Regions from separate parts of the Homo sapiens genome. Here region 1 is linked to region 2. Evidence: promoter capture Hi-C in 16 types of primary human blood cells and fetal thymus (Javierre and others, 2016). All regions are on one chromosome and are shown on one strand. The core of a region is centred on a gene start or on the middle of the fragment in contact, and the rest is flanking DNA. Distances in the headings are between cores, read along the strand shown.

Evidence for each region. Contacts are between HindIII fragments. The CHiCAGO score rates a contact against its expected background, and 5 or more counts as called.
Region 1: a fragment that was not itself captured here is called in contact with the fragment with the promoter of COPB1 in region 2 in 1 of 17 cell types (fetal thymus); the score reaches 6.2 in fetal thymus.

What each region holds. Positions count from the first base shown.
Region 1 is chr11:13,457,225-13,463,433 of GRCh38, reverse strand. BTBD10 (BTB domain containing 10) reads left to right here and starts at 212. Exons shown (of 9, transcript NM_032320.7): 1 at 212-342. RefSeq lists an enhancer at 1-32. The HindIII fragment of the contact is 860 bases long and covers 821-1,680 here.
Region 2 is chr11:14,495,577-14,501,852 of GRCh38, reverse strand. It overlaps COPB1 (coat protein complex I subunit beta 1), which reads left to right and starts at 2,042. Exons shown (of 22, transcript NM_001144061.2): 1 at 2,042-2,146; 2 at 2,868-3,015. The coding sequence starts at 2,925. RefSeq lists an enhancer at 1,821-1,920. The HindIII fragment of the contact is 3,446 bases long and covers 1,199-4,644 here.

The sequences.
Region 1 (6,209 bases), core at 1-2,500, 1.0 Mb after region 2:
GGTCGCGCGGCGCCTTCCTCTCCACGCGCCTGAGATCCCACCCGTGGCCGCCGCGCCCTCAACTGCCTTCTCCTTCGGTGCCCCGCCCACCCCTGGGCGGAGAGCACCGTTCTCGCGAGAACGCTGCTGGCCTCGCCTCTTCGCATTGTGAGCTCTCGCGGTAAGAGGCTGAGGAGCCGGCCTGCAACCTGCCGGGGCGGCTCCGCTACGCGCAGCCGCCTCAGTGGCTTCCTCCACAGCCACCTCCGGAGGGATCTGGCTGAGGAGGAAGTGGAGGTGTCACTGGCCCCGGCCTTTGCCCCAATCTTGTGTGGGCACTGAAGGGGGACTACAGGTTCGAGAGTGAGTGGACTCAGCTGGGGAACTCGGCGGGGGCGGCGCGGGAGGCTGGGCTTGGCCGGGGCGAAAGAGGAAAGGGGCGGAGGGCGAATCTGGGCGTGAGAGCCAGGCTGCTGCGGCGGTGGTCTGGGCGGCCGGACCCTGCTCGGGTACCGTGGGTGGCGTTTTGGGCTCCGGCCACGAGCACCCAATTAGGAGAGGCCGGGATAAGACTTGAGTTTTGCGGCTGCTGCTTTTGGGTTGGGAGTCCGGGGGCCTTTCTCCGGGGATGAAGGCGATACCCTCATCCCTTTCCAGGGCAGAGGAACCCCGTGCCCCGCCCCTTTCCTGTCATCTCAGACGAACGCAGCGACATCCTGAGGAAGGCGCATCACAATAGGGGATAAGGTGGTGGGCAGCCTCCCTCTGGGTGAAGAGGAGTGAGACCCCACTAACGTGCTGCGTGGTTTTATGTTGTAACCATTTTACGTGTGGTAAAGCTTTGTTTTCTTAAAACTTGCACGGAAAAGGTTCTGATGTCTTTCTTCTTCAGATGCAGGTGCCCTGACACCCTTATCTTTGGGAATGGGGCGGGGGAAGGTGAGACATCGGTTAGTAATTTGTTAGTGTGGGCCAGTGTGACTGTCCCTGGGCCTCACAGATTTCCTGCTTCTCCTTTCTCAGTATTCTGAGTCCATGATGAAAAGTCACTAGTCCAGACATGCTGAAAGATAGAGCTTCACTTGCTTGTGGCTTTGTGCACTTAGTAAACAAGATTATTTTACGAAGATTTATTATCTTGCAGAGTTTTCATGCTTTTTATTTAAATTAGCAATCTAAATGAAACAGCACAGGATATTAATTGTATTTGGACAACTGAGTTCCTTCCCGCCCCTATCCTCCCAACCCCCCAACTACACAAATTTGATCAAAATCTTTTAGAGAGGGGGTTAGGGATAAATTTTCAATGAAAGAGACTGTGGAAATCGGAATAAGAGATATAATAAAGAATGCAGCCATAACGGCCAAAAGAGTTTCTGTATTAGAGAGCCTGTCCAGGATTGAAGTTCAGTCCTGAAACCCAGGACTGCAGTTGTCATTTGAATATAAAGCGGAAAGCAGTAGAAAATACTTGGGAAGGGATTTGAAAGTGGACCAAGACTGGTAAAAAAAAAAAAAAAAAAAGTGTGAGAAGAATTATTTCTGATGATGTAAATGTGTTTTATAAATTTTCCCAATATTTCTCAGCGTGTATGACCTAACAGCTATTATATTAATACATACAAAGTAGGAAGGAAGTTTCTGAAGCATGGAATGTGGTAAGGAACCACCAGAGAGTAACAGTGTTCAATCAGGAAAGCTTTTAGTGTTTCAACAATGTTTTTGTGTTCGTTCACCTTTTTTCTCACTCCCAGAAAAGCTTTCAGATAGACTTCTAACCCTATGTAATTATGTTACCCTTCCACCAGTCTGAATTTTCTTCTTTCTCACTCCCTCTAAGCCATGTGAATTTTTTAAATTATTAACTATGGAGTTGCAAACCACTGTGGTCTGCTTTTGGCTTTTTATAATAGGTGACTTAGGGAAGTATGGAAGTGATATGGAAAATATTGTGCACCTTTCAAAGCCATAGCATGAGCAACAAACTCACATGCCTTCGGGTACTAGTTAGATAATGAAAATGAGGGAAATGCACTATGCCTTATCAGAGAGACATCCAAGTCTCAGGTCCCCCTAATCAGTGCTATATAAGAATATGGACCCCATCTTCAGCATTCTCAAGAGAACTCGGAAATCTAGATTTTTGCATTCAGTGTCTTGCGTCTTAAAAATATTGACAACTAATTAAAACCATTAAAAATATCATGTGACTGAATCAAATCCAAACCTGTCCATAGTTGTATTCTCCTCTCCAGTTTAGAAGCTCTGTTATAAATCAAAATTAATAAATTTTATGACTGGAAAAAAAGGAGGTTTAAAGCAAGTTTGGAGTTTCAAACTTAAGGGGTCTTGGGAAAAATGTCACATCTAATTGAAAACAGTAGTTAAGTTTAATAGCCTTTAAGTATAGTTATAGTAGGGCAATTTGAACTGGTATTTACTATAAACGTTTTAACTGTGGAAATAACTGAAGAAAAAGCATCTCAGTATTTATGGTTTAAAAACTCAGAGTTCTGAGCAAAGCTGATTTATAGGTATCTTGTACAGAAATTGAATTATTTAGAAGCTCTTTATTGTATTTGCAGCTAATATATAAAATTAAATACAAGAGACCCTCTACAGTCCATTTCAGGATTTGAATGTTTATTGTTTGCTGTGCTATCCCACATTGTCTTCCTAGGCATTGACTTACTGGAAGAAATACTGATCCCTTGGATTTTATTCCATGCCAGATGGAGATTGGAGGGGTTTGGCAACAGGATGGAAAGAACTGGGTGGAGAAAGTGTGATGTGAAGCAAACACTCTTGTGCCCCTTCCTTACATTGTTCATTAAAAGATTGATTTGTGTTAGTTTTTCTTGTAAGAAGGATAGGTATATTAATTGATTAAACTTAGTGCCTTATACATAGTAGAGTTTAATGACGTGTGGAATTGACCTTTGTGGATTAAGCCTCATTTACCCATTAATGTGAAGTAATTTAATCACATAATCTGATTCATACCTAGTTGGGTTATGGGGAATGGGAGTGCTAGAGGTCAAAGCTAAGTAAGAGGTGTTTTTTAGGCATATAGAGGGCAAGTTGGGGGTCTTCACTTGGGATAAGGGTGAGAGAGGAAGTTAGGTAAGGGAGAGAATTTTGAAAAGGAAGATGAAATGATTAAGTACCCATTTGTGTATTGTGCAGTTTTAAAAAGAGGTCTGCCTTTTGTGGCTAAATTTATCATAACTTGTGCAGAGACTACATAGAATACTGGTTTTTAATCAGGACTGCTATGGGAATTTGCAGATTTTCTTTTCTTCATTTTAGCTCAGTCATCTCAGGCCAAGCTAGGCTAATATCTGTTCATTCAATCTCTGCCTCTCTCTGAAATAGGAAATGAAAGAAGAGGAGATATGTATTATGTTTGTGAGGTGCTCCTGTTGAAGAGTTATAAGACTACTTCTGAGGAATTTGTTTTATATTTGAGAAGATTGTGCTTGTTGAAGGGGGAACCATTATTTTCGTCTTTACTTGTTTCTACCATGACTCATAAAGTAGGAAGTTCTTTTTTGGAAATAGCTTTCCGCTTCTTCCCATCCCCTGAGTTGCCATCCCAAAGGAGGATCAGGGGAGGCTAAGGGAAGGGATTGAGTATACTTTTGTTCAGTGCCTTATGATTCAATTTTTGGGACTCTCAATTCTTAGGCTATACATTGTCTATTCATTTGTATGGTAGGCTTATCTGAGCAGGCTGGACTACTAATACTATGAGGGAGAAGGAAATGGAATGCCTACAGTTCTAACTGGGTAAGTTTAATTTGCAGTTGAAGTAATAAGGGTTTTTGCACGTTGGATTTAGTTATATTTTTACCATCATCTGTTTGGATCCTTTATTTTTTGTTGATTCTGAACCGAAAGTAAGGCGGGTCAGGAAGATACAGATGTTACCTTCTCCTGTTAATGGAGAAAGAACTATTAAAATTTTTCTCCCTTTTTAATAGATTCTTCATCAGGGTTCAAGCCAATGTTGCATTTCCCCTAGTGTATCTTGCTCGGGTTTACTTTGAGATCCTTGAAACTGAGACCTAGTTTGCTAAAGAATGTAGCAATCAGCCAGCCAGGCATGGTGGCTCACGCCTGTAATCCCAGCACTTTGGGAGGCCGAGGCGGGCGGATCACGAGGTCAGGAGATCGAGACCATCCCGGCTAAAACGGTGAAACCCCGTCTCTACTAAAAATACAAAAAAAATTAGCCGGGCGTAGTGGCGGGCGCCTGTAGTCCCAGCTACTTGGGAGGCTGAGGCAGGAGAATGGCGTGAACCCGGGAGGCGGAGCTTGCAGTGAGCCGAGATCCCGCCACTGCACTCCAGCCTGGGCGACAGAGCGAGACTCCGTCTCAAAAAAAAAAAAAAAATAAATAAATAAAAAAATAAATAAATAAATAAATTTTAATGCTCAGATACCTGACAGAGAATCTTAGGTACAAAATTGTACAAGCGTTGTTATGATTTTCTTGTTTTTGGGTGGCATACAAATAGTGCTGGATTGTTTCAAAGGTAATTACTTCATTCAGACAATTTATTTTATACAATGCAGGCTTGAATTTGATTTTTCTCACATCAAGAAAGCAAGCGATATGATCTGTTTCTTTCAGCTATTCATTTGTTCATTTAGAATTTTCTTAGAGAAGACCATAACCTCCTGTAAGATGGTTAACTGCGAGACATTCTTGTTTCTTACTTAGTTTTCCAAATTGTTGGAGTTTCTCTTTTAAAAGAGAATAATTATTAGAGAGACTGGTGGGATTATGAAACCATAATACTGAAAGTAACTTTAAAACCATTAATACTCCAATTTTTGGAAGAGAAAACTAAAGTGCAAATCAAGCCCCTTAACTGATTTTGATCAAAGATATTGGCAGGCAGTAAGACAGCTGAGACTAGAATACAAATCCACAAGTTTCCTGATTTGGAGTAGTTTGTTCCAGTGATTCCCCCTAGTGGGTTGCATGTGCTTTTGGGGATATATGAAAAACTTGTTCATTGTGCTGTATGAAGAAAACAATAGAACTTCTATTTATTTTTTACTGTATCCTTTTTAAATTTCCATTTCGTGTGTGTGTGTACTATATACATAATACTGGTGTGATAGTATATGTGCATTGTTTATAAATATACATATATACAGCTGTCCGTGTTACTTGAACTCAACATATTAAGAAAAGGAAAAACTGCCATATTTTAAAGTGGTATGGCATCTTTGATCATCTTTGCTTCCCTAGTGAATGATATTATTTAACAGTAGACTGGAACAGTTTTTTTTTTTTTTTTTTTTTTTGAGATGGAGTCTCATTATGTTGTCCAGGCTGACCTTGAACTTCTGGGCTCAAGTGATCCTCTCACCCCAGCCTCCCAAGTAGTTGGGATTATAGGCACATACCGCCACACTCAGCTTGAATGGCTGTTAATTTTGAAACTGTTTTATGATGAGTAGTTTGAAAAATTTCCTATAAAAATAGATTTATTTGGAGTAATTTCTTTCTGACTGTAAAAGTAATGGGTATTACATGCAACTGGGAACATTTAGCAAAGGGCAAAGAAGAAAATGGTACCATAATCCCATGACTCAGTGATAATTGCTTCCAGTCAGAAATATATGTGTGTACACAGATACATACATACACATATGAATATTACATACACCCCTTATTAATTTATTTGGAGTATGTAAGTCATTATGTGGTTCAAATATCTAAAGTATATCGAAAGAGAACTCAGAAGTCTTGATTACATCCCTATTACCTTCACCCCAGTCCTACTCTGCCCATATAGGTAACCATTTTGATTAATGTCTTTTTTATACTTTGAGTTGTTTTCTTTACAAAAATAAATACATGTGTATTTGTCTTTGAATATATGTACATATTTTTAAGTTTACCCTTTATGTTACAAAAGGTAGTACAATGAATACTGCTTGTTCTGTACCTACCTGTTTTTTGCTGTTGCTGTTTAACCTAACGATGTATTTTGGATATTAATCCGTTATTCTATTGTGTGGATGCATGTAGTTTATTCAGTTAACTCCTTTTGATGCACATTCCGATTGTTTTAGTCTTTTACCATTACAAATAATGCCACAGTGAATATATTTACAAATATTTTATGGAATATTAGTGGAGTTGTATCATCTTTGAAGTAGGACTAGTAAGTGTATGTGTAGTATTGTTGGATATTACAGAATTCCTTTCT
Region 2 (6,276 bases), core at 793-3,292:
TTAAAGGCATTCAAAATTATATAATTACATCTTAGAGTAAAACAGCCCAAACAAAGTGTATTTTACAACAGATCAGGAAGAGTTAATGAGGTTAATATTAAGGTCCTTATACCCATTCAAAAAGCTTTGTACTTAAGAATATGGAAAAATATATGCACTGCCAATGACAATTGTAGGTTCAGATCTAACTAAAGTAATATGTAAAACATTACATTTTCTTGCCTTTTCATATTTAGAACTTAATGACTTGGGGTCATGAGAAACCTCAAAGTTATTCTGTAACAGAATGAACCTCTGGGGCAAATGAAGTCTGTACGGTTTAAGTCCTACACCATGATGGCCCTAAACTGAGCTTTCTTACTGTAAATCTAGTTTTTATACCTTTTTTGGCCTCATTTCTTGCTGACAGATTGTCACTTTTTGGTAAGTTAAGTGGGCTTGGAAACCAGATAACTGCATTTGTAAAACTTCCATGTTAAAAACGAATACACAGAAAAGGAACAAACTGTTGTACACACACCCGGGATTGATCTCAGGGGAATTATGCTCAGTAAAAAAATCCAATCTCAAAAGATTACATTGTATAATTCCATTTATATAACATTGAGATGATAAAAATCATAGAGAATTATTAGTGGTTGCCACAGGTTAGTGTGGGAGGTGGCTATGGCTATCAAAGGACAGCATGAGAATCCTTGTGATAGAACTGTTCTGTCTCGACTGTGTTGGTGATTACACACATATAAGCATGATAAAATTGTCTACAAGTGAATATAAAAACGAGTACATGTAAAACTAGTGAAGTCTGAACAAGGCTGGGTGAATTATGTCTGTCAATTTCCTGAAATTGATATTGTACTATAACTATGCAAGATGTTACCATTGGGAGAAACTAGGTAAAGAGTATATGGGATCTCTGTATTCATGTCACTCTACCATTAAGATTAAATATTAAAAAAAATGAATGCACAGAATCAGAGAGGCACTCTTAAAGTGCTGTCAACACATGGCCTTTGAATACAATTTTGGGTGCTCAAAGAATTTGTAGATTGCTTGATGGTTCTAAAAAGAGAAAGCTCAAAAGAGCTAGATCCTACATAAATGAGGTACTATTGGTGTTCCATCTTCCTGAGATGAACCTGTTAACTAGGGCAGTTGCCGTCAGATCTGTTTTTATTCGCAGTATTTTGCTTAAGCTTTAAGATATTTTGTTATTAATAATTGGCCATAAAACCCTTTTGTGGGCAGAGGGAGGTGTAGGGGCGGGGCGTGCTATGGAACTTCAAATGGGCAAAACCGAAAGTACTATGGCTGATTGCAGCTGTAACAGGTCTTTGGAGATACGTAAAATCCTTTAAAACAGTGACTGTCTCCCTTTATGCATAAAAATTTTTTCTAATCTACTGGGTGCTCAGAAAGGATCACGGAAAGAGGCCATTATTAAATAAAAAGCAGAAATTATACCAATGTGACTTTGGATTTTCAAATAACTCCAGCCCTACCTGCAGAGAGGCAGATTCAAACTACTAGCGATGTTAAGAACTGAAATGGATTTTAATCTAGTGATAATTAATAAAATAACTGAATTACCTTCCCAATAGTATTAGTTACTTTCCCAGTTTATTAGGGTGTGGACAAGAAAAAGGATTACTGGGTTTCCACTTTCTAGTCCAGAGCTCTTTTTCACGGGAACAGAGCCCTGTAAAAGTTTCCCTCTCTCCAAGCACTTTCTCCCCTTGACTGTTCCTGAAGAAGGAACGATTTCCAGTTAGCGTTTAAATTAGCATAGTGCTTAACTCAGAGCTTGGCTTGCAGGGAAAACTAGAAAATACGTGGTTTCATTGCTCTGCGGCCTAATCAAACCCTGGACAAGAGAAGAGGAAGAAAATAGGATATACTTGCAGCGCGCAAGCGCTGCACAAAGAAAGCATGTCCTCTCTGAGTCGCCGTAGGTGCTAGGTGGCTGTGGCTTCGGTCGTTACCCCACCCCCTTCCACGTCAGCCAAGGACTCTGGAGCCGCCGCCGCCGCTGCTGCGGTTCATAGCCGGAGTAGACGGAGCCGCAGTAGACGGATCCGCGGCTGCACCAAACCACTGCCCCTCGGAGCCTGGTAGTGGGCCACAAGCCCCCAGTCCCAGAGGCGTGGTGGGTCGGGCAGAGTCGGAAGAACTGGCTTTCTAGCTGGAAGATGCGGAAGGGGAGCGACTAGGCCGCTTGCGTCTGGGCCTGGCAGAAGGGACCGGGTGGGGGTACGGGTGGGGGTGCGGGTCGGGGTGGGGGCGGAGGGCTAGGAAGCTCCGGGTCGGACGCTCCATCCCGTCCTTTGTATTGGCCGGGGGTCTTTTCCCTCCCAAGACCCCTAGGCGTACCCTTTCAGGCCTAGGGCTGCTTTGCTGGAGGAAGGGGAGGAGGAAGCGGGTGGGGCGAGGTGGGGGTGCAGCGCGTTGATTAAGGGACCCGCGGACATAGAGTCGGAACCCACCAAGGACCGCGATAAAGCGCTTTAGGGTTTTGGCAGAGTATTCAGGCACAAGGTCTCTTAACTTGAGCATGCAGATTGTGTGTTGTGTAAAAACCATACGGTCCATAACATTGTGGGGTGTGGCTGGGGGGACTGTCACTGTTCTGTGGGCCTTCATTCGGCTATACAGCATTCTCAAACACTGGACCGGGATGCGATGAGGGAGTGATAGATAATATACCTTATGCCAGAGCTGATAATGTGGTTTTTACTAGAATTTATTTTTATGGGAACACGATATAGATTGACCTGCCCTTTCTAATACTTTAAAAGGTCACTATAGGTACTTGTTTGTGGGTTTTTTTTTTTTAATTTGTAATGATATGTCTGTGTTTATTTTTCTAGATTTTCTGGCATCCTTAAATCTTGTGTCAAGGATTGGTTATAATATAACCAGAAACCATGACGGCGGCTGAGAACGTATGCTACACGTTAATTAACGTGCCAATGGATTCAGAACCACCATCTGAAATTAGCTTAAAAAATGATCTAGGTAAACTTCGATATTATTTTGAGAATGAAATGAAAAAAGAAAAAACAAAAATAAAAAACTCATATTTCATATTCCTTTATAATTAGAAATGCTTAATTTTTGTCTAAAGTTTTTCTAGGATCTCTTCGATAGACCTTTTATTAAAAATGCGAACTTCTTTAAATATTGGTTGTTTGAAATAGAACATCTCAGTTTATCTTAGTAAACCTAAAGAAATTGTAATAGTTTAGATATTCCTCAAAATGTCATAATTTTTGTAGACTTCAATATATTAATGTGGCTGATTATTTTCTCTAGGCAACAGGTTGAGGATGTGTATTGGAATATCTTAATTCCATCGTGCACTTAACTTCATGTTACTTAGCTTGTAAAACCAAAAGAACTTTGTTCTTTGGATTACCCACCCAAACAATTAGGTGAACACTGGAATAAACATGTATTTTCCAGAAAAGTTTACCTTTTCATTTTTTATGCATTTTTGCAAATAAGAAAACAACTATATTTCTGAACTTTTTGTAATGTTTAATTTTTGGGGGTACACAGTAGATGTATATATTTATGGGGTACATGAAATGCTTTGATACAGGCATGCAATACATAATTATCACATGGAAAAATGGAGTATCCATCCCTTCAAGCATTTGTCTTCTGTGTGACAATCCAGTTACACTTTCAGTTATTTTTAAATGTCCAATTAAATTATTATTGACTGTAGTTACCCTGTGTGCTATCAAATATCGGGTCTAACTCATTTTTTCTGTACCCATTAACCATCTCCACTTCCCTACCACTACCCTTCCCACCTCTGATAACCATCCTTTTACTCTGTCTCCGTGAGTTTGTTTTGATTTTTAGCTTCCACAAATAAGTGAGAACATGTGAAGTTTGTCTTTCTATGCCTGACTTATTTCATGTAACATAATGACCTCCAGTTCCATCCATATTTTTGCAAATGACAAGATCTCATTCTTTTTTTATGGCTGAATAGTACTCCATTGTGTATATGTACCACATTTTCTTTATACATTTATCTGTTGGTGGACACTTAGGTTGCTTTCAAGTTTTGACTGTTGTAAACAGTGCTGCAACAAACATAGGAGTCCAGATATCTCTTTGATGTACTCATTTCCTTTCTTTTGGATATATACCCAGTAGTCGGATTGCTGAATCGTATGGTACCCCTGTTTTTAGTTTTTTGAGGACCCTCCAAACTGTTCTCCATAGTGGGTATACTAGTTTACATTCCCACCAACAGTGTACGAGGGTTCCCTTTTCTCCACATCCTCTCCAGCATTTGTTTTTGCTTGTCTTTTGGATAAAAGCCATTTTAACTGGGGTGAGATGATATCTCATTGTAGTTTTGATATGCATTTCTCTGATGATCAGTGATGTTGAGCACCTTTTCATATGCCTGTTTGCCAATTGTATGTCTTTGTGAAATGTCTGTTCAAATCTTTTGCCCATTTTTAAATCAGATTATGAGTTTTTTTTTTTCCTGTAGAGTTGTTTGAGCTCCTTACATATCTGGTTATTAATCCCTTGTGAGATAGGTAGTTAGCACATATTTTCTCCCATTCTGTGGGTTGTCTCATCACGTATGTCGATTGTTTCCTTTGCTGTGCGGAAGCTTTTTAACTTGATGTGATCCCATTTGTCCGTTTTTGCTTTGGTTGCCTGTGCCTGTGGGGTATTATTCAAGAAATTTTTGGCCAGACCAGCGTCCTGGAGATTTTTCCCAATATTTTCTTGTAGTAGTTTCATAGTTTAAAGTCTTAGATTTAAGCCTTTAATCCATTTTGATTTTATTTTTGTGTAAGTTGAGAGATGGGGGACAAGTTTCATTCTTCTGCACATAGTTTTCCAAGCACCATTTATTGAAGGGACTGTCTTTTCTCCAATGTATGTTCTTGGCACCTTTGTCAAAATGAGTTCACTGTAGGTGTATGGATTTGTTTCTTGGTTCTGTTATTTTCCATGGGTCTTTATGTCTGTTTTTATGCCAGTACCATGCTGTTTTGGTTACTGTAGCTATGTAGGATAATTTGATGTCAAGTAATGTGATTCCTTCAGTTTTGTTCTTTTTGCTTAGGATAGCTTTGGCTATTCTGGGTCTTTTGTGGTTCCATATAAATTTTAGGATTTTTTTTTTTTTTCTGTGAAGAATGTCATTGGTATTTTGATGGGAATTGCATTGACTCTAGATTGCTTTGGGTGGTATGGACATTTTAACAATACTGATTCTTCTAATCCATGATCATGGAATATCTTTCCATTTGTTGATGTTCTCTTCAATTTCTTTCATCAGTATTTATAGTTTTCATTGTAGAAATCTTTCATTTATTTGGTTAAATTAATTCCTAGGTATCTAATTTTATCTGTGGGTATTGTAAATGGGATTAGATTACTTCTTCAATTTCTTTTTCAGATTGTTCACTGTTGTCATATAGAAATGCTACTGATTTTTGTATGTTGATTTTGTGTCCTGGAACTTTACTAAATTTATCATATTTCTGAATTTTAAAAATGTATACCGTGTCTCCTTTTTGTGAGTGATTCTGTCAAGAAAAAAAAAATTTATAATTAATATGCTTTCCAAAGTAATGATTCTTGTTTAATTGAACTGCTAAAAATAAATACAACTTAAACTGATAAATATTGTTTAAACAGAGCAGAGTGAAAATTATGCTTCAAATATAGAAAGGATCTTTTAGAAGATAGTTTGCAGTTTGAAAAGAAACTTAATATTTTACTTGCCTATTCCCACTTCTTAATCAGCAGTAATGGAATACCTCCTGATTCTAGGTTACTTAATACTAGGTTTCTATTGAGGTCTATTTTTAGAGAAGGGAAAAGAAACCCAGTTTTATGATATTTAAAATGATACCATTATATACATAAGCCACATATATTTCCCTTTTTTCATGTTCATGTAGGATAGTTGAATGCAAAATAGTGAATACATTCATTAGTGTTTTTCCTCATAATTTAAAAATTTTCATTGTTAGATCCTCAGGATACCTAAGGTTATAGCTAGGAAGGTAAAGAATAAAATCTGCCCTTAGTTGGAACAATGCCCTAGTCTTAATTGAAGCTGCCTTAGCTACCTTCCTCCAACCAATAAATAAATACATACTCTCCAGTTTAATGTATATTTTTGCCATTAAGAAGAGTTGAGACTGGGCATGGTGGCTCATGCCTGTAATCCCAGCACTTTGGGAAGCTGAGGCAGGTGGATCACTTGACTTCAGGAGTTCGAGACCA